Linked DNA regions of Homo sapiens: all the other regions are linked to region 3. Evidence: promoter capture Hi-C in 16 types of primary human blood cells and fetal thymus (Javierre and others, 2016). All regions are on one chromosome and are shown on one strand. The core of a region is centred on a gene start or on the middle of the fragment in contact, and the rest is flanking DNA. Distances in the headings are between cores, read along the strand shown. Region 1 has its middle 97 kb from the start of RNASEH2B-AS1. Region 2 holds the start of NUDT15 (nudix hydrolase 15). Region 3 holds the start of SPRYD7 (SPRY domain containing 7). Region 4 has its middle 67 kb from the start of RNASEH2B-AS1. Region 5 overlaps RNASEH2B (ribonuclease H2 subunit B). Region 6 overlaps C13orf42 (chromosome 13 open reading frame 42). Region 7 has its middle 49 kb from the start of RNASEH2B-AS1.

Evidence for each region. Contacts are between HindIII fragments. The CHiCAGO score rates a contact against its expected background, and 5 or more counts as called.
Region 1: a contact is called between a fragment that was not itself captured here and the fragment with the promoter of SPRYD7 in region 3, in 1 of 17 cell types (fetal thymus). The highest score is 5.9, in fetal thymus.
Region 2: a contact is called between the fragment with the promoter of NUDT15 here and the fragment with the promoter of SPRYD7 in region 3, in 4 of 17 cell types (total CD4 T cells, non-activated CD4 T cells, neutrophils and 1 more). The highest score is 6.0, in total CD4 T cells.
Region 4: a contact is called between a fragment that was not itself captured here and the fragment with the promoter of SPRYD7 in region 3, in 1 of 17 cell types (total B cells). The highest score is 6.0, in total B cells.
Region 5: a fragment that was not itself captured here is called in contact with the fragment with the promoter of SPRYD7 in region 3 in 5 of 17 cell types (total B cells, naive CD4 T cells, total CD4 T cells and 2 more); the score reaches 9.0 in total B cells.
Region 6: a fragment that was not itself captured here is called in contact with the fragment with the promoter of SPRYD7 in region 3 in 1 of 17 cell types (fetal thymus); the score reaches 6.3 in fetal thymus.
Region 7: a contact is called between a fragment that was not itself captured here and the fragment with the promoter of SPRYD7 in region 3, in 3 of 17 cell types (total B cells, fetal thymus and non-activated CD4 T cells). The highest score is 5.6, in total B cells.

What each region holds. Positions count from the first base shown.
Region 1 is chr13:51,006,019-51,008,718 of GRCh38, reverse strand. It overlaps the pseudogene GUCY1B2. Among named protein-coding and RNA genes, the nearest start is that of RNASEH2B-AS1, 97 kb to the right of the region's middle. The HindIII fragment of the contact is 627 bases long and covers 1,123-1,749 here.
Region 2 is chr13:48,036,379-48,039,078 of GRCh38, reverse strand. NUDT15 (nudix hydrolase 15) reads right to left here and starts at 1,353. Exons shown (of 3, transcript NM_018283.4): 1 at 1,175-1,353. The coding sequence starts at 1,332. It overlaps LOC124903172 (a long non-coding RNA gene), which reads left to right and starts at 1,087. Exons shown (of 2, transcript XR_007063788.1): 1 at 1,087-1,473. RefSeq lists enhancers at 857-1,016, 1,067-1,306, 473-1,348, 1,349-2,225. The HindIII fragment of the contact is 6,950 bases long and covers 1-2,388 here.
Region 3 is chr13:49,934,904-49,937,603 of GRCh38, reverse strand. It overlaps SPRYD7 (SPRY domain containing 7), which reads left to right and starts at 1,264. Exons shown (of 5, transcript NM_020456.4): 1 at 1,264-1,474. The coding sequence starts at 1,369. RefSeq lists enhancers at 284-333, 1,204-1,453 and a silencer at 914-1,163. The HindIII fragment of the contact is 4,962 bases long and covers 1-2,700 here.
Region 4 is chr13:50,976,046-50,978,745 of GRCh38, reverse strand. No RefSeq gene overlaps it. Among named protein-coding and RNA genes, the nearest start is that of RNASEH2B-AS1, 67 kb to the right of the region's middle. The HindIII fragment of the contact is 2,127 bases long and covers 194-2,320 here.
Region 5 is chr13:50,938,435-50,941,134 of GRCh38, reverse strand. All of the region lies in intron 5 of RNASEH2B (ribonuclease H2 subunit B), which reads right to left. Among named protein-coding and RNA genes, the nearest start is that of RNASEH2B-AS1, 29 kb to the right of the region's middle. The HindIII fragment of the contact is 6,799 bases long and covers 1-2,700 here.
Region 6 is chr13:51,080,868-51,083,567 of GRCh38, reverse strand. C13orf42 (chromosome 13 open reading frame 42) reads left to right here. Exons shown (of 4, transcript NM_001351589.3): 4 at 1-1,449. Among named protein-coding and RNA genes, the nearest start is that of C13orf42, 29 kb to the left of the region's middle. The HindIII fragment of the contact is 1,139 bases long and covers 881-2,019 here.
Region 7 is chr13:50,958,388-50,961,087 of GRCh38, reverse strand. It overlaps a transcript of RNASEH2B not described here. Among named protein-coding and RNA genes, the nearest start is that of RNASEH2B-AS1, 49 kb to the right of the region's middle. The HindIII fragment of the contact is 1,556 bases long and covers 538-2,093 here.

The DNA.
Region 1 (2,700 bases), core at 187-2,686, 1.1 Mb before region 3:
ATCCCAGATCATAGGGGCAGACAATGAGTTTAGGTTGGACACGCTGGGTTCAAAGGAACTGTGGAACATTCAGCTAGAGGTGCCATAAAATGGATGGAGTTGAGTTATTGAAGATCCAGACTTGGAGTAAGCAACATATAGGTGGTAATAACAGTCATGAGAGTTGATGAGATCAACCCAGGGAAGGATGCAGTGTGCAAAGAACAGTGGGAAAAGAATGGAATCCTGTGCAGAACCAATATTTAAGTGGCACAGAAGGAAGAGGAGCCCAGGGAAGAGACAGGAGAAGAAATACTCAGAAAGGACCAGGAGAGTTGAGGGTGAGAAGCACTCTTGTGGATGACTTTAGGAAGGAAGAATTGAACAAAAATGTCAAATGTAGTAATAAGGACTGAAAAATACTCACTAGAGGTTTTGGGGACATTCTCAAAAGTGGTTGTAGTAGAATGGTGGGATAGACGTTGGGCTGAAGAATAAAAAGAGGAGAAAGTTTGCATGAGATTAAAGCAGGTGAGAGGCTGTTTTGTTTGTTTCTGTTTAGGATGGAAGAGACATAAGCACACTGAAAAGCAGAAGGAGAAAGGCAAATGGAATGGGAGATGAAGATAAGCGTGGGGTGGCCAATGGAGCAAGGCCCAGAGGTGGTGGGAAGGGGGTGAGGGTGAGGAGACCCTGGACAAGAAATATACCTCATCCTCGGAGATTGGGGGACAGGATGGTGTGGTCATGGGGTGAGAAGTCACAGGCTCTCACCTGTAATCAATGTAATTTTGTAGATGAATCAGGGCATAAAGTAGGAGGCACAGCCACCAGCGTATGAGTGAGGGGAGCAGATGCCAAATGGAGGCCCATGAGGACTGTGGTGAAGGTCTGAACTCTCTACCAACCTGGCCAAGGGCAAGGGAAGGCTCGATGGAGTGCCGAGGCAGGTGGTCATGAATTTGAATCCTCATTGGTCTGAGTGGTTCTTTGGCTTTTCTCTAACATCACTTGGTGGCTAGTAAATAAATAAACAGGGAAACGTTTTGTAATTACCCCATAGCTCTGTCTCTTTTCATGGTCCCTTCCCTATAGTCCTCCTCTTCAGTTCCTTGGCAGACAGAAATTGTGGTGGAGAAAGCTTGGGTAGTTAGGATGAGCATAGTAGCAAGCATGGGGTATATGGTGCACTTGGGGAAGATGGAAAGAAGAGTGTTGATACCCAAGAGTCTTACGTGGCAGAAACATGAAAGGTGGTGTCCACATGGGCACTGACAGCATGGTGTGTAGAAACGTGAGAGATGCCCATATGAGGGTTGAGCTGGAGGGAGGAAAATTGGTGGCAGGGTTGGGAGGGTTTTGATGGGTCCCTGTGTTCTCTTTTGGCCTTTGGCATCCTGTTCAGAATATCTCATCCTCACTTTCCCCACGGCCTCTGTCCTGCTTCAGCAGGCAGATGTCTGGGATCTTCCCTCCCCTGCTGTTGTGTGTCCTGTGTCCTGGACTTTTCCTCTTGAGTAGCCCTTTGCATTGTAGCCAACTCTTGAGTTACAGACCCACAATCTTTGATATCTGATGCACTTTTTTTCTCTGTGCAGAGCCTTGAAAAATCAAGGGTTTAAAATCATTGAGAGGGGTGAAATTGAAGTGAAAGGTAAAGGGAGAATGACCACATACTTTTTGATCCAGAACTTGAATGCCACAGAGGATGAGATCATGGGGAGATCTAAAACCCCAGTTGATCACAAGGGTAAGCAAAAAAGAGAAGCTTTGTCATTAGTGTTGAGTAGTTTTTCCACTAACCACTTCAGATATGTTTATTATTTGCAGGGTCAACACAGAAAGCATCCTTGCCCACCACCAAGCTCCAGGGCTCAGTTCAACCATCTTGCCCTGAACACTCTTCTCTTGCATCCTGGTTATTATGACGTTCTTTGAGCTGGGCCGATAGATCCAGCTGAAGAGTTCTACATACATTAGTCTTCAAGGTTCTTCTCTGGGCGTTTCCCATGCAGCTCTCTGGTAGCTGGGGAATGATTTGTGAGTGCTTCCTCTGCTCCACAGCCTCAGAGGCTCCAGCACAGGCTTCCCTCGCGTGCTGGAACCTTTTTCACATTTTGTTCTAGCTTCCAAAACTGGGATGAGGGACAAAATTTGTGACTCACCCAGCTCCAGGAATGACAAGAGGGTGGGAGTTTAGGGTAAAAAAACCCAGTACTAAGCTGGACCAGGGATTACTGTTTGGCTCATGGTACCCCCAAAAAGAAGCTGGAATCCAATGGCGAGCTCTCCATCAGCTGCAAGGCTGATCAGTCCCACACACTCAGGGTCCCTTAGCCACAGCCTGGCTAAGACAGAAGTGCTGACCTGAAGGGGAAACCTGGTAATAGGAGGCAAGCCTTTCTGAACCTCCAAGAAGGGAATGAATTCCTTCTGACAGGAGCTAATCTTTAGCCACTCCAGAGGCCCACAAGGGGAATCTCAAAGTCCAGAGGTTCCTTATTTACACAGCTATTACACGCAGTATGTCTCTTTGGGACATGTGGATTATGATGACTATTTTTAAAAGTGGGGCTATCCCAAAGAAAAGATGGATTATTTGAAGAATTTTTAAAATTGTTGTCATAATGCTTTCATTCTAATATCAGCTCACTGTAGTATCCCTGTGAGCTATAGTTGGTTTAGGCCACATTTTACTGTTGTAGACACTGAGATACAAAT
Region 2 (2,700 bases), core at 104-2,603, 1.9 Mb after region 3:
AGAAAGCACACATGTGGATATCATGCCCAGAGGACACCAATGGATGGATCAGAGCAGCATCAGTCACCTGAATGGCTTGCTCTCTCTCCTCCTCCAACACACTGGAGAAAGAAGGAAACTCAGAGACAGCCAGGTGAGAAGAGGAGGAGGATACAGAAAAGCAGAACAATGGCTCACACCTCCTTTATGCACTGCAGGGGAGGGATTAGAAACTGGAAGTGACACTGAAGGTTTAAATTGGATTGGACTTTTAAATGCTTGGAAGTGAATCATACTGACCCAAATGTGATTTATTTTTATAACCAAGTGACAAGAAAACTATAGAATTTGCAGGAAACGTCACTGAAGAGGGAAAGAAAAAATCATGTTTGAAGGCAGTGGAAGGAGAAAATAAAACCATTTCCTGTTTGTTCTCCCATCAAATTTAGCCCACTGAGTATGCCAGTTATGTAAAGATCAAATGAAAGTATACATGCAAAGAGCTTGGCATATTATCCAGCCTTTAACAAAAAGCCCATTAGAGCTCAATGTTGGCTATGGTCATTGACCTCACGGGTGGATCACCTGAGGTCAGGAGTTCGAGACCAGCCTGGCCAACATGGCGAAACCCCGTCTCTACTAAAAATACAAAAATTAGCACGGCGTGGTAGCGGGCGCCTGTAATCCCAGCTACCAGGAGGCTGAGACACAAAAATCGCTTGAACCCAGGAGGCGGAGGTTGCAGTGACTGGAGATAGCACCACTGCACTCTGGCCTGGGCTACAGAGCGAGACACAGTCTCAAATCAATCAATCGATCAATCAATCAATCACATGGAAACGGTGCAATGTCTTAGCTGACAATATCGGGCTGCTGGAGGTTTACACACACCTGCTTTCCTCCTTTTGTGTGTAAGCTGTGAGAAACACACCTCACAGACGAACTCCCAACCACCACCCAGCAGGGGCGCAGCCGGAAAGACCCAGCTAGCAAAGACCTCGCCTGACCCAGCACAGCGCCCCCTCCTGGGCGCGATCCTACGTCGCCCAGAAGTCGAGGGGAGGAACCGAGGGAACGCGCAAGAAAGGACGCAGCGTCAGCGCGGACGTTCTCACGCACGGCACACGGAAGCAAGCACGGCGTGAGTTCGTCCCTCTGCGCACGCCCCGGTTTCCTCGCGTCCGCGGCTGCTCACCCGAACTCCAGATGACCTCCAGGGAGTTGGAAACTGCCAGCTCCAACCGAGCCTTTCCTCTTCCCCAGGAGGACGCAACGCGGATGCTTGCAGCTGGTCACCACGACTCCGACTCCGACTCCTGGCCGCCGCCCGCGCGGCTGTGCGCTGGCCGTCATAGCGCGCGGGAGGACGCGCCTGGCAGCGGCAGGAAGTGACGCGCTCACTACCCCGTCCCGCGGCCGCAGCCAATCTCTCCCCGCGAGGGCGGAGGCGCCGAAATCAAAGCGAGAGCGCCTCGGCCTCTCCAGCTGTCCGCGGTGCGTAATGCGTCGCGGAGGGCTATCAGGTTGGGGAATGCCGTGTTTCCTTCCGAAGGGCAGCGTGCCTTAGAGTTTCGCTGTAACTAAAGTCGCTTACAGTTGTGCTTTGAATATTCATCACCCGTCAGCCTATCCACTCCCAGATTCCTGCAAACCATGCATTTACATGTACAAGCCGCCTGCTCTTACCAACCTCGGCACCACTGCACATTCTTTTTTCCGTGAATGACCTCGCCCACCATGGTGCACCCATTTGCCCTGTAGCTCAAATCAGCGTGGTACCAGGATAAGGATAGGTCGTTTAGAAACATCCCATTATAAACAACTATGCTTAAGGTATATTCATAAGTCATGGGAGGAAATAAAGGCTAATTGATAAATCATGCTGGGAAGAGTTAGTTACAAACAGTGGAAAACAGACATTTTCAGATGTTTGCACACCATGCACCATGCAAAATACAAACCAGCTGAATCATAAAAACAAATGACTAGTTACTGGGAGGGTTTTCTCTCTTTCTCATTATTTTTACTTCTACCAAAGTAATGTGCACATACTGGTAATTTTATTTTATTTTAATTTTCACCAAGCTAGCTAATTTTCTTTCTTTTTTTTTTTTTTGTGGAGGTGGGCTGTCGGTCTTTTGTCGAGGCTGATCTCCAACTCCTGTCCTCAAGCAGTCCTTCCACTTGGGCCTACCAGAGTGCTGGGATAACAGGCGTGAACCACTGCGCCTGACCTATAGCTATAATTTTAAGAAGTAAAATGGTGCAAAAACCGCAACAAGAGCAACCTGACCCTCCTACTTTCAGAAACAATCACTTTTAACTCTTTGAACTGTATTTCTGATATTTGCCTACTTATTTCTAAGTAATATGCTTACTCTCCATGTTATACTAAATGGGTATTAAGCTTTTCACAGCATCTCTCCTCACTATCAACATTCACATTCATTACAAAGGTACTTACAATATCTTCTCAAAAAATGGTAGTATATAAAAAGGATAATATATTGAACAATGAGATTAATCCCAGAAATACTAGGTTGGCTTAATATTTGAAAAGCCAATGTAATTCAGCATATTAACAGAGGGAGAAAGGAAATACATATAATCATCTCAATAGATGCAGAAAAAAATTAATAAAATCCGATACTCAGTTGTGATTAAAAAAACTCCACAAAATCTCTGAGCAAACTAGAAATAAAATGAAACTTTAACATGATA
Region 3 (2,700 bases), core at 15-2,514:
ATTTCCAGATGCCAAGCGGTATCTTTTTTTTTTTTTTTTTTTTTTTGGAGACAGAGTCTCTGTTGCCCAGGCTGGAGGGCAGTGGCGCGATCTAGGCTCACTGTAACCTCCGCCTCCCGGGTTTAAGCGATTCTCGTGCCACAACCTCCTGAGTGGCTGGGATTACAGGCGTGCACCACCGCACCCAGCTAATTTTTGTATTTTTAGTAGAGACGGGGTTTCACCATGTTGGCCATCCTGGTCTTGAACTCCTGACCTCAGGTGATCCGCCCACCTCAGCCTCCCAAAGTGCTGGGATTACAGGCGTGAGCCACTGCACCCGGCCTGAAGATGTAAAATCTACCACGGAAGGATGATCTAAGTGGGGAAGGAGATGACAGGTGACAGCCTCCCGTGTGGAAGCAGAAAGTAGCGGACGGTAGGAGCCGAAGGCTTCCCTCGGGACCCAGCAGACTTCCCGCAGCCTCCTGGGTTCCCGTCACATTCCTCGGAACCCTCAGTGCACCAGACAGGGGGAGCTTGGAAGAGGCAGGTCAAGAATCGCCCCCGACCCCGCCCCAGCGTTCTGCTCCCAGGGCGGCCTCCCACGCGCCCCGGACCACGCAGCCCGATGGGCCAGGTAGGGCGCGTCTCTGCACCGAAAATGCATTAGGGCCCGCGTGAGCCCCGGTGAACATCCACAGTGCAGTCACTAACAGGCATTACTCCTGGGGCCCACGTGAGTCTATTTAGCATGTGAGGGAAACCAGCCACGGCAGGGAGACTGGGGCTCTCCGTGGTGGCAAAGCCTGCTCAACCTGGGCCCGCGGAGGGAAAACTCGGAAGTCATTTCCATTAGCTCCCCTTCCCCCAAACTGATTCGCTTCTGTCAATCCATCCCTAGAAATAATGTCGAGGCCGGGACCAAGGGGTGCTGCGTTTTAAAAATTCTGCATAGGAAAACCCCTGGAAGTACTGAGGGACAGACAGCCCCACTCACCTGTCAGCCCTGGGGGCGTGCGCGAAACCGCCCAAGGAGAAAAAACCAGCTGGTGCGCAGGCGCACGCCGTCCCACATCCGCAGGCCCGCAACGCCACGCCCCCTGCCACGCCTCCGCGCGCCACTAGCCCCACCCGTCTCCCCGGCCCAGCCCGGCCGCTCGCCCTGTCCGGTCTCTCCCCGGCCCCTTGATTCTCCGCGTCTTCCTCGCAGGCCAGCCTAAGCTCAGCCTGCATTGCGCCCTCCCGGCCTAGGGTGTCGCTGTACCGGCCTCCGAGCTCCACATAGACAAGTCCGGACCTCGGGCGGGGGCAGGAGACGGAGCTGAGCGGCGGGGGGCAGTGTCGCCTCGGTCTAGGGACGGCGGCGGAGTCGGTGGTCCCTGCGCGATGGCCACCTCGGTGTTGTGCTGCCTGCGGTGCTGCAGAGACGGGGGGACTGGCCACATCCCTCTGAAGGAGATGCCGGCCGTGCAGCTGGACACGCAGCACATGGGTAAGGGCCCTCCCTTCCCCAGACCCAACGGCTCACGGGGGCCGGGCGCGGCGGGCAGGGGGACCTTCAGGGTCAGAGGGTCCCCACGCTGCCCCGCCGCGCCGGCGACGCTGCGCCGACACCATTTCGTCTCGCAGATCTCTCCAGAAGCCGGCGGACTCCACCTGGGCCCGGTTCTGTGTTCAAGGCTGCGCAGCCCTCTCTGTGTCTGTCATCGCGAATGGGCGTGTGGACCTCCCATTTTCACAGGAATCTCGGAGGCTTCCTCCGGAGATGTCACACGTCCTCGGGCGAGGGGGCGGAGAGTGCCCTTCTGGCGCGCCCCAGTGAAAACCTACACATTTTCAGAATGCTTCTAGGTCCGGTCTTGCTCCTCCTCCTGCCCTGACTGTCGGTCCTGTCTCTTGAGCCCCATCATTTATAGGTTGAATCCTATATTATTGGAAGTAATTTTCCTCTCACCTCCTAAAGTCGAAACAAGGCAGACTGCAGAAGTCTGAAGTCGCACCTCAGGTCAGAACTTGCCATTTCAACTAAAACCTCCCATTGCCCGACTCCTTAGTCATTGTGAGAGGTACTGTAATTTCATCTGACTGGCCTCTTCCCAACAGGTCTAACTGTTGAAAAATAAAATAGCACTTTGCTCCTTTGCATCTTGCTTTATCCTTTTAATTCCAAATCCATATAATTTATCTAACATTCTTCCTCTCCCATCATAGCCTCTTTCACCACCTTATTATTTCTTAGACTTTTCCCAGGTAGTTTCATGCTTCTGGAATGTGGTTCTAGAAGGAGAGATTTCCCAATATAATTATTTCAGTTAGAGTACTGTCTTTTTGTGGATTATTTTATTCTAACTGTACTTCTGCACTTTTGATTTTTTACACGTTTCTGATTGTTTAAAGGACAGTGCATTGAAATAAAAAGGCACTTCTTAATATTTATGATAAAACTCTCTCGCCCAGTTTCCTTATAATTCTGGAAACACTCTGCCCACTGTATTTTTGTATAACACATACTAAATGTGATAACTATATAATCACCTTGTATGTGTGTATTTACTTTTAATTCTCAGATCTCCCAAATGTAGTACAGAACCTTAATACATAAGTAATCTTTAAATTATTTTTTATCCATCATTATTTATAGACGATGGAGTTCAAATTCTATAGTTTTCCTCAGAAAATATTTCCATTTCAGTTACTCATTTACTGAAGTGATATTTA
Region 4 (2,700 bases), core at 8-2,507, 1.0 Mb before region 3:
CCATGGCAAATATTTAAAAACCAGACCTTTTCATAGGCATCATACTGATTTAGTCTCTAATCATGAATCCAACCAAAATATCTGGATCCTCTCTGCCATCAGTCCATGGTGACCAGATCTGGGCTGTGTTAGGGGTCATTGCATTCAGCCTGTACTCTGGAAATTACACTCCCAACATTCATTTACTAAAGCTTTAACAAAATTATTCAGACAAACTATCCATTTAAAAAGTAGACTGAGTAGTTATCTTTGAAGACCCAAGGAATCTTTACCCAAGATTAATAAGAAAAAACAAACTGAAAAAAAAACTGGTGATTTTGTTCACATTAAAAAAAAAATGCTGCATGTTAACCATCTGTCATGGTTTACTAATTAAATCACTGCAACTAATCTTGTATTAATATTTTTTTAAAGTTAAAAATGGGTTTCCTGAAAATGCTTAGAATTTCTGTGGAATTGCTTAGAAAGTCTTTTTACTTTTTGAACTTCCTTGGCCTTATAAAACTGTCAGCAGAGCAAAGTAAGGGCCAGTTTTCTGCAGCCATAACTCCCCCATCTCTTTTACAAGTCTTTATTCTTCGGAAATATAAAGGGTTGTGTTGAAAAGCATTAACTGGGGGCCGGGCGCGGTGGCTCACGCCTGTAATCCCAGCACTTTGGGAGGCCGAGGCGGGTGGATCATGAGGTCAGGAGATCGAGACCATCCTGGCTAACAAGGTGAAACCCCGTCTCTACTAAAAATACAAAAAATTAGCCGGGCGCGGTGGCGGGCGCCTGTAGTCCCAGCTACTCGGGAGGCTGAGGCAGGAGAATGGCGTGAACCCGGGAAGCGGAGCTTGCAGTGAGCCGAGATTGCGCCACTGCAGTCCGCAGTCCGACCTGGGCGACAGAGCGAGACTCCGTCTCAAAAAAAAAAAAAAAAAAAAAAAAGAAAAGCATTAACTGGGAAAATAAATGAGCAGCAAAATTATCAGTTTCCATTCAGTGATTAGTTGCCTCTGGTCTGCTTGTTAACAATGGAAAGCCTTTGAAGGCTGACGCCTTTCTTTGCACCTGGGTAAATGAAGTCACCTGACTTTGCCCTCACCTTGCCTGGGCCTGTCCAACCCTAGGGCCCCCAGATAGCTGCTGGCCCTCTAGGCTGTGTCCCCACTGGCCTGTTAGCCAGCCCTTATGGTTCTAAGAACAACTTATCTTGGAATTTCCACTGCCAGCTTTAGACTCTAGCACCAGGCAGAGAAAAAGTGAAATTATATCCCAAAGAGATTCTTCAAACCCAAAGAGCTAAGACTACTTCCTTGCTGAATTCTCACTGCTTCTGATTCTGAAGACAGGGAAGGTGTTGTCAATTCCTTTCTTTCCCTTGGGCCTTGCCTTGGGCTGCACCTGCCTGAATCCCATTCATTCCAGCTCAGTTCCACCTTCTCCATAAGAGCCTCCCATCTACACCTGGCAACCCTGTAGCTCCCTTTTTATGGCTCTTTATTCTGTTTGAGAACCTACATTTCCATCCCTTCAAAGCCAAACTCCTCTGTCTGACTTCAAGACATGAATAGCCTTACCTCACACTGCTTCTAGACACAGATTCCATTCCCTGAGCAATCTCCCTGGGTGTTACAAAGGAAAGATAAATCACAGCTCTGCCAATTAACAACTCTTGCATCTCATGGTCTGCTGTCTTGTCTAGAGAACGGTTAAAAAATGGCAAATGGATAGATTTACATTTAGTGGAGGAAGGAGCTTCCCAATATAGGAAATAACATACACCTCCTCATCACTGATGATGAACTGTTAACAAATAATCAAAATAAAGTTAATTCACATCATCTTATATGTAAAGTGACACATGTATTTCTTAGTGGGCAACTGGTGGTGTAGACTACTGGTCATTATTAAAAACCATCTCCTGAACTCTGTTCTGCACCCCAGCCACGTCCTTAGGAGTGACCCAATCCGCCATAGTCCTGATTTGTATAGTTTCGAGTTCCACTTGCTTGTCTTAGTTGCTCCAGTCTTCTCATGTGGTTGAGGCAAAAGGTCTTATTTCTTCCTCTTATCAGTGTGCCTGCTAATTGGCTGTGAGTTCGAAAACCAGAAACCAGAAATTTTAAGAAGCATTTACAAAATAAGAATTCACTTTGGTGGAAGGATGGACCTTGTGAAATCTGATTGTCAAAGGGGATGTGTCGGGGAGGAAGGAAAGGAGAGTGTGGTGTCAGAAGAGGCTGCAAATTAAAATCCCAGTGCCTGGACCATACCTCAGACTGATTATTTGCAGCATCTGTAGGAGTGGGGCCCAGCATCAGTAGTTCTTAAAGCTTCCCAGGTGATTCCAATGTGCAGCCAACATTGAGAAGCTCTTGCTCCCCTGATGCTGAGGCGTCACTCTCTGTGACAGGCTGGCCAACAATCTAAACACACAGTAAAGAGGGCAGAGATGGTGAAGCCAGCAGAACAACATCAGGGCCTGAGAGGAGCTGCTGGCTCATCTCTGCCCTGCTGCCACTTCAGATACAGAAAATTCATCTTCATGAGAAAACAATTCAAATGGGCTTTGACCGGGCAAAATTTCCTGAATCATTTTTTATTCTGCCTTTTCCGGAAAGATGTGCCTTCTCTATTTGGGTCATTAGGATATAGTTGATAAATCATAAAATTCCTTAGTTCTTTTGAGAATTTCCACAGGATAGACTTAGTCCT
Region 5 (2,700 bases), core at 84-2,583, 1.0 Mb before region 3:
AACATAAGAAACTAATGTTTATTCAGGTCTGTGCTAGGCACATTTTATACATTTTCTTATTGAATGATCAGAATGAATCTCAGAATCAATTAATAAACCATGATTTGTCCCCATCTTCGAAGACTGGCTCTGAGTGACATGAAGTAAACTCTCCTAAGTCACTGAGGAAGTAGGCAAGAGCACCCAACTCCCAACCATGCTGACATCAAAGCTGTGGATCTGATGTTCACTTTACCAAGATCACTAGGTCTGCACTTTCCTCAGTACCTCCTAACAACCTCTCCTCCATGGCATATATAAAATTGCTTTCTATTTTTTTATGTCTCTAATGACTTATCTGATTCTTTTCCCAGCTCTGCTTCACCCTCCTCCAAAGTCAACTGTATCCTTTCATCTGGTGTGATCTCCTCCTAGATCAACAAGACTAAACAAACTAACCGGGAGGCCCAAAGCCCTGAACTAAGCCTCCATGTGTCTAAAACCCAGTGGTTCATCTTCCTCCTACACCACTCTCCTGAATATCGAGGCCTAAACCTCAGAGCCAGTGCTCACACTGGCCTTGCCTCCCACATTCCATCTCTCCATCCCATGGGAGGTAGGAAGTATAGAGAGAAAAGGAGCCAATATTATTTTGGGGGAAAGGGGCAAGTAAAAATAAATACTGTGTTAGAAATCAGGAGGCTTAGCTTCTAGTGCTGGATCAGTAAATATTGTTTTAAAAATGAATTTTATTTAGGTGTTCACGCAATGTTCATGTTCACACAATGGACACACCCATTTTAAATGTACAAATCGAGGAGTTTGGAAAAATGTATGCAGTCATGTAAGCATCATCCCCCAAAGTTCCCTGGAACCCTTATGTAGTCAATTCTCCCATGGCTACCCAGATCACAGGTCACCACTCATCCATCATTATAGGGCAATTCTTGCTTTATTCTGGAACACCATAGAAATGAAATGATATAGTATATACTTTTTGTGTCCAATTTCTTTTGCTCAACATTATTTCTGTGAGATTCATCCATTTTGTTGCAGCTAGCAGTAGTTCCTTACTTTGTACCAGGGAGTAGTAGAATTCCTGAGTTGTAAGAAATTGTCAAGTGGCTATATCATTTTAAGCCGTGGACAGCCAGGTAGGTAAGTTCCAACTGTCCCACAACTCACAATCTCCTTTTTTCTTAATGGCATTTTTCAAAAACAAAAGAGAATACTTTTGATAAAATACAATTTATAATTTTTTTACAGTTAGTGGGTTTTGTGTCCTAAGAAATCTTTGCCTCCCAAGACAACAAGGATTTTATCCTATGCTTTCTTCTAGAAGCTCAATAATTTTCATTTTTGAATTTAACATAGTGATCCATTTTGAATTAATTTTTCTGTATGAGGTAAGAATCAACGTTATTTTTCATATGTATACCAAATTCTTCCATCAACATTTGTTGTAAAGACTATCCTTTTTCCCACTGAATTATCTTCACACTTTTGGAAAAAAAAAATCAATTGACCATATAAGTGTGGGTTTATTTCTAGATTCTCTATTCTATTCCATTTATCTATATATTTATCCTTATACCAACACCAAATTTATTTTATTTTTATTTATTTTTTAAATTTAGGGACAGGGTCTCACTCTGTTACCCAAATTGGAGTGCAATTGTGTGATCACAGTTCACTGTAACCCCGACCTCCTGGGCTCAAGTGATCTTTCCTCCTCAGCCTCCCAAATAGTTGGAACTATAGGCACATACCACCACAGCTGGCTAATTTTTTTTTCTTTTGAAACAGAGTCTCGCTCTGTCACCCAGGCTGGAGGGCAGTGGCGCGATCTTGGCTCACTGCAAGCTCTGCCTCCTGGGTTCATGCCATTCTCCTGCTTCAGCCTCCCGAGTAGCTGGGACTACAGGTGCCCACCACCACACCTGGCTAATGTTCTTTGTATTTTTTAGTAGAGACAGGGTTTCACCGTGTTAGCCAGGATGGTTTCGATCTCCTGACGTCATGATCCACCTGCGCTGGCCTCCCAAAGTGCTGGGATTACAGGCGTGAGCCACCGTGCCTGGCCCACAGCTGCCTAATTTTTAAACTTTCTGTAGAAATGGGGTTTTGCTACTTTGCTCAGGCTGTTCTCGAACTCTCAGCCTCAAGCAATCCTCCTGCTTCGGCCTCCCAAACCGCTAGGATTACAGGCATGAGTCATTGTGCCTGATCTCCACATTTTCTTGATTATAGTAAGTCTTTAATTCAGTTTGTGTAAGTTCTCCAAATTCTTCTTTTTCAAAATTGTTTTGAATATTATAGGTCCTTTACATCAGGGCTCCCCAGTCCCTAAGCCATGTACTGGTACCAATCCATGGCCTGTGAGGAACTGGGCCACACAGCAGGAATGAGTGTCAGGCAAGTGAGCATTACTGGCTGAGCTCTGCCTCCTGTCAGAACAGTGATGGCATTAGATTCTCATAGGAGTGCGAACCCTATTGTCAACTGCACATGCGAGGGATCTAGGTTGTGTGCTCCTTATGAGAATCGAATGCCTGATGATCTGAGGTGGAACAGTTTCACCCCAAAGCCATCCCCCTCCCTGCCCCATCCATGGAAAAATTGTCTTCCTCAAAACCAGTTCCTGCTGCCAAAATTAGGTTGGAGACTGCTGCTTCTGCTGCTTTACATAGTCATATAAATTCTAGAATCAGTTTATCAATA
Region 6 (2,700 bases), core at 201-2,700, 1.1 Mb before region 3:
AATGGGGTGAGGGAAGGGGTATGTCACGAGCCTGCCTGGGGGCCACACTGTTTCCTCAGGCCCCAAAACTCAGCTCCCCTTCACATAGGCAATTGACAAGAGAAGAAGGGAGATGGGGTGATTCTTTTCTTTTTCTTCTAATTCTTACCCAGAAAAATCTTTTTAAATATCCATGGAACCAGTTTATGACAGGCCACACCTTTCCCTTTCCCCAGTTAAGAGAACAATCAGAATCATTACGTTCTTTTGGTATAGAAAGGATTTCTGTATTTTAGGAACTATCTGAATCAGAATTACATTTAAAATATATTCTTTGTATTTCTAAATACTTTTTACATTTTTGCAATAGTTGTACCCATTCAAGCTTGAGAACCACTGGTTTGGAGAATATACTGAAATTTATCTATTCTCACTTCTTTTTTTGGCATTTTCTTGTAAACCAGTCTGTGCATGTATAAGGGTCTTTGGGCAGAAGGAAGGGAGAGAGACAAAAAACAGAAAACAAAACAAAACAAAGAAAACCACAATCATTTGAATTAAGCCAAGGATGTTCTAGGCTAAGGTCAGGCTAAGAACTGAACAGAGGCTTCCTTTCTGCCATGCCTGTGGGATGATATTCTTATTGTTCCATTTTTTAGGAAGAACCTTTTGTTTATGTGAACCTGATCATATGAATCTAAGAATATGTAACTCTTACAAATAAAAAACAGCTAGTAATTATATTGCATTCTTAGAAATTTTATCTCAACATGTTTTCAGAATGAAACCATACTAGAAATGTTTTAATACCTCTCTTTATTATTTTTCGAGTGCCAATGTCAATGTTTGGAAAGTTTCTTTCATTTTGTTGCTTGTACTAACCCAGCTATAGCCAGAAGCTTGACTGGAAAGTAAATGTTTAGGAGATTTGTTTTATAAACTGCATTAAAGCACTGCCATTTATCACCACAGATCTTTTATTTTCCCTAAATGTGGCCTTGTTTGAAGCCTCATCTATAAAAGTTCATTGTTGGGGATAAACTCAGGATAAAGGTGTCTTTACTCTGCCTCTTATCAAACTACAGTTTATCATAGATCCACCCTGAAATTATGTGGTGAAGATACTGTGTACATTTTGTTTTTAAAGATAAGAAAAAATAAACATGACTGCGAGGATGTTTGGAGTCCTGATTTTTTAAAAAGCATTTATTGCTTATGGCACATGAAGCTGTGCCGTCTTATTTTGCTTTGTTTTGTATGTTTTTTGTCTTTCATGAGACTATACACAGCCTGAAAAATTCCATGATTGGGAAACAGAAGGTTGTCTTGTCTTTGGGGATCATTTTTAGGTGTTTGAAGTTGGTGATAAACCCAAGGATCTGTGCTCTGCCTGGGGAATCTTGAGATGGTGTCTGGTGGGGTTTGAGATAAATGAAATCTGAAACAATAAAAGTCAATTCAGAAAACCCAGTTGAGTTGACAGATTCTTTTCTTCCTTGGATTGGCCAGTTATTCAATGGAATCAAGCTGATCACTGAGGCTATGTTAGATCTCTGGCTTTCCCAGGATTCTCAGTTTTGATACATGAAAATCTACCTATCCCTAGACAGAATGTCAAAAAGAGAGGATGTGCATCCGTGGCATCTGGCTTGTTTTTTAGCACCTGGTTTCTAGCTCCCGCTACAGACTGTCTTCTGCTTCATGGGGCAAGATGCATGGAGCTGCTAGTTTGATTTGAATCGTGTGTACCCAGCCATGTGCCATGCAACTGAGAGCATTGCTGCCAAGACCGACCTTCCTGGTGCCCATTCTCAGACACAGAGCCCAAAGTGTCTCTAACAGGACACTGTGTTCCTCTCACCACTGTTCGCCTTTGCAGAGAGAATGAGTTTCCTGTTGCTGCTGTAATAAATTACCACAGACTTAAAGGCTTAAAACAATATATATTTATGCTTTTACAGTCTGGAAGTCAGAAGAACCAAAATCAGTTTCACCAGGTTAGGTCAAGATGTTGGCAGGGCTGTGTTCCTTCTGGAAGCTTTAGAGGAGAATCCATTTCCTTGCTTTTTTCAGCTTTCAGGGGCTTCCTGCATTCCTTGGCTGGTGACCCCATCCTTGCATCACTCCAACCTATTGATTCCATCATCATGTCTCCACCTGCTCAGTCTGTGCTCCTGCTTCCCATTTATAAGGATTTTTTTTTTTTTTTTTGAGACAGAGTTTTGCTCTTGTTGCCCAGGCTGGAGTGCAATGGGCACGATCTTGGCTCACCGCAGCCTCTGCCTCCTGGGTTCAAGTGATTCTCTTGCCTCAGCCTCCTGAGTAGCTGGGATTACAGGCATGTGCCACCATGCCTGGCTAATTTTGTATTTTTAGTAGAGACGGGGTTTCCCCATGTTGGTCAGGCTGGTCTCGAACTCCTGACCTCAGGTGATCTGCCCACCTTGGCCTCCCAAAGTGCTGGGATTACAGGTGTGAGCCTACGTGCCCGGCCCATTTATAAGGATCTTTGTGATTACATCACTCTCACCTGAGCAATCTCTCCATCTCCAAATCCTTAATTTAATCAAATCTGCAAAATATCTTTTGCCATATAAAATGACATTCACAGGTTCTGGGGATTAGGATGGAAACATCTTTGGGAAGCCATTATCTAGCCAACCATACAGCATCACAAGATGTTCTAGTCCTAACAGACCCAGCCCAATTCCCTTTTAAGCT
Region 7 (2,700 bases), core at 66-2,565, 1.0 Mb before region 3:
GGTGTACTGAGAAAGACATATTACTCCTGGAGGTGCCCTAAGAGTATGACTTGAATTTAATCAAAAAGAAATATTAGAATAAGAAATATTCCAGCAAATATTTACCCTGTACTCAAAAATGTCAAGTAAGACAAAGAACAGATGAGAAACTCTTGCAGATTAAAGAAAACTATAACAACAAAAAGGCTCCAGTGCTAGATAGTTTTACCTCTAAGATTCTTAAACATTTTCCAGCAATAGAATATAATAATGCAAAATGAATCCTTCCAGAACATTGGAAAAAATGGAAAGCTAGCCTAATTCTAACGCTAAAGCCTAACAGCAGCATTGCTTATGAATATGTCTGCAAAATTCCTTAATAAAAGTGTAGAAAGTCTAATTGAAAACTATATTTGACAAAGGTTAAGAAAGATAGGATGTATCCATTATGCTATTGATCCTTTATCTACTGCCAGGGTGAGTTTATTAGACATTTGGGTACAGTTTGATAGTAAGTAGTAAAAACTTTATAGACACCTCAATAGATGCCAAAAAGCTTTCTGATAACAACCAACACCAATTATTAATTTAAACCTTAAGGAAACTAAGTATAAAAGGATGGATAGTCTTTATCATATTAGCAACAGCTAGTGTCAGAATTAATGGTAAAGCACATCAATAAAATCACCAATTAGACAAAGACGGCTATTATTACTCTTTAATACTGTTCTGGATATTCTAGCCCATGTAATATAATGTAAAATATATAATAAAAGAGGTGTAACTATTAGAAAGAATTGCATGCAATTTTTAAAAACTAAATTACATACTATATTATGTACTAAAACCCAAAATAAATAAAATGGAAAATTTTTCCATTAATAGTTTAGTAAACTGGTTATTTAAAAGATAAATATATAAAAATATAAAACTTTACCACAAAATGACCAGTTGGTAGACCTAGCTGGAAAAAAACAGATTTCATTAATAGCAATGAAAATATCTACACATACTCATACAAAGATATGTCTAGAACCTATTGAAGATGAAGAACCGAACATTAGTGAAAGGTATTCTTAAGACTTGAGTAACTAAAAAGAAATACTATATTCCCAAATAAGAATATTTAAGTTTGTAAAGATGTTTGTTTTCCCAAAGTAAGTTATGCATCTAACAAAATCTCAGTAAAAATCCCATTGGAACTTACTCTTAGAACTTGACAAAATAATCCTACAGATTAAATGAAAAACTAAACTGGTGAGAAAATAATTAAATTACAGCTTTACCTCACAGCATATTTAAACATAATTACACATTCTCTAGATGATTTAAGTAATTAAATATAAAACAAAAATAGGCCAGGCGTGGTGGCTCACGCCTGTAATCCCAGCACTTTGGGAGGCCAAGGCGGATGGATCACCTGAGGTTGGGAGTTCAAGACTAGCCTGACCAACATGGAGAAACCCCGTCTCTACTAAAAATACAAAATTAGCTGGGCGTGGTGGCACATGCCTGTAATCTCAGCTACTCGGGAGGCTGAGGCAGGAGAATCACTTGAACCCTGAAGGCGGAGGTTGTGGTGAGCTGAGATCACGCCATTGTACTCCAGCCTGGGCAACAAGAGCGAAACTCCATCTAAAAAAAAAACAAAAAAGAACCAAAAACATAACTATTAAAAAAATCAGAAGAAAATAAAAGTGTCTGGTTAAATTTCCTGTAAAATGAAATATCTTTCTAAGTACAATATCTGTGTAAAGGAAAAGTTTATGTATATATGTCTACATAAAAACTAAAAACACCTGCATGTCAAAAATCATAGGCAAAATTAAAGGCAAAGTATAAACCAAGAAAGGAAATTTACAACAAACACAGTAGAAATAATTAATGTCCTTAAGTTATAGAATACTTTTAGTCAATAAGAAAAATATTGATACTCTAATAATTTAGCAAAGAATATAAAAGACAATTCTCTATAAGATGACAATTGATTAGTAAGTATGAAAAAATGTTCAAAATCACTACTAATCAGGGAAATATGAATTAAAACCACAATAAAATGTTTTTACACTTATTTCCAAAGGTAACAACCAATGCTAACAAGGTGGCATTAAGCTTTCACACCCACTGTTTGTTAGAGTGCAAGACCATTAAAATAAGCCTAGAGTGCAAAAGCTTATAAACTTTCCATGAAATATATTCCCATAAATATATATTTGAAAATCCAATAAGCCCACATCCAAAAATCCATTATAAGGAAACAATAAAATATGTGGACAAATATTTACTTATAATCTGATTCTTCAAATAGTGAACATTTGTGAATAATCCAAATGTCCAAACAGGATCATGGTTATTAAATAATCAAATATCCAAATAATCAAAAATTATACTGTCATTAAAAAACATATTTATGAAGAACAGTTAGTAGTCTGGGAAAATAGTAACAAAATAATGTTTATAAAAAGGTAACTACTGTGATTTTTCACAGAATTAGAAAATAACTATTCTAAAATTCATATGGAACCAAAAAAAAGCTTGGATAGCCAAAGCAATCCTAAGCAAAAAGAACAAAGCCAGAGGTATCACATTACCCAACTGCAAACTATACTACAAGGCTACAGTAATCAAGACAATATAGTACTGATACAAAAACAGACACATAGGCCAAAGAAAGAGAATAGAGAACCCAGAAATAAAGCCACACACCTATAGCTATCTGAT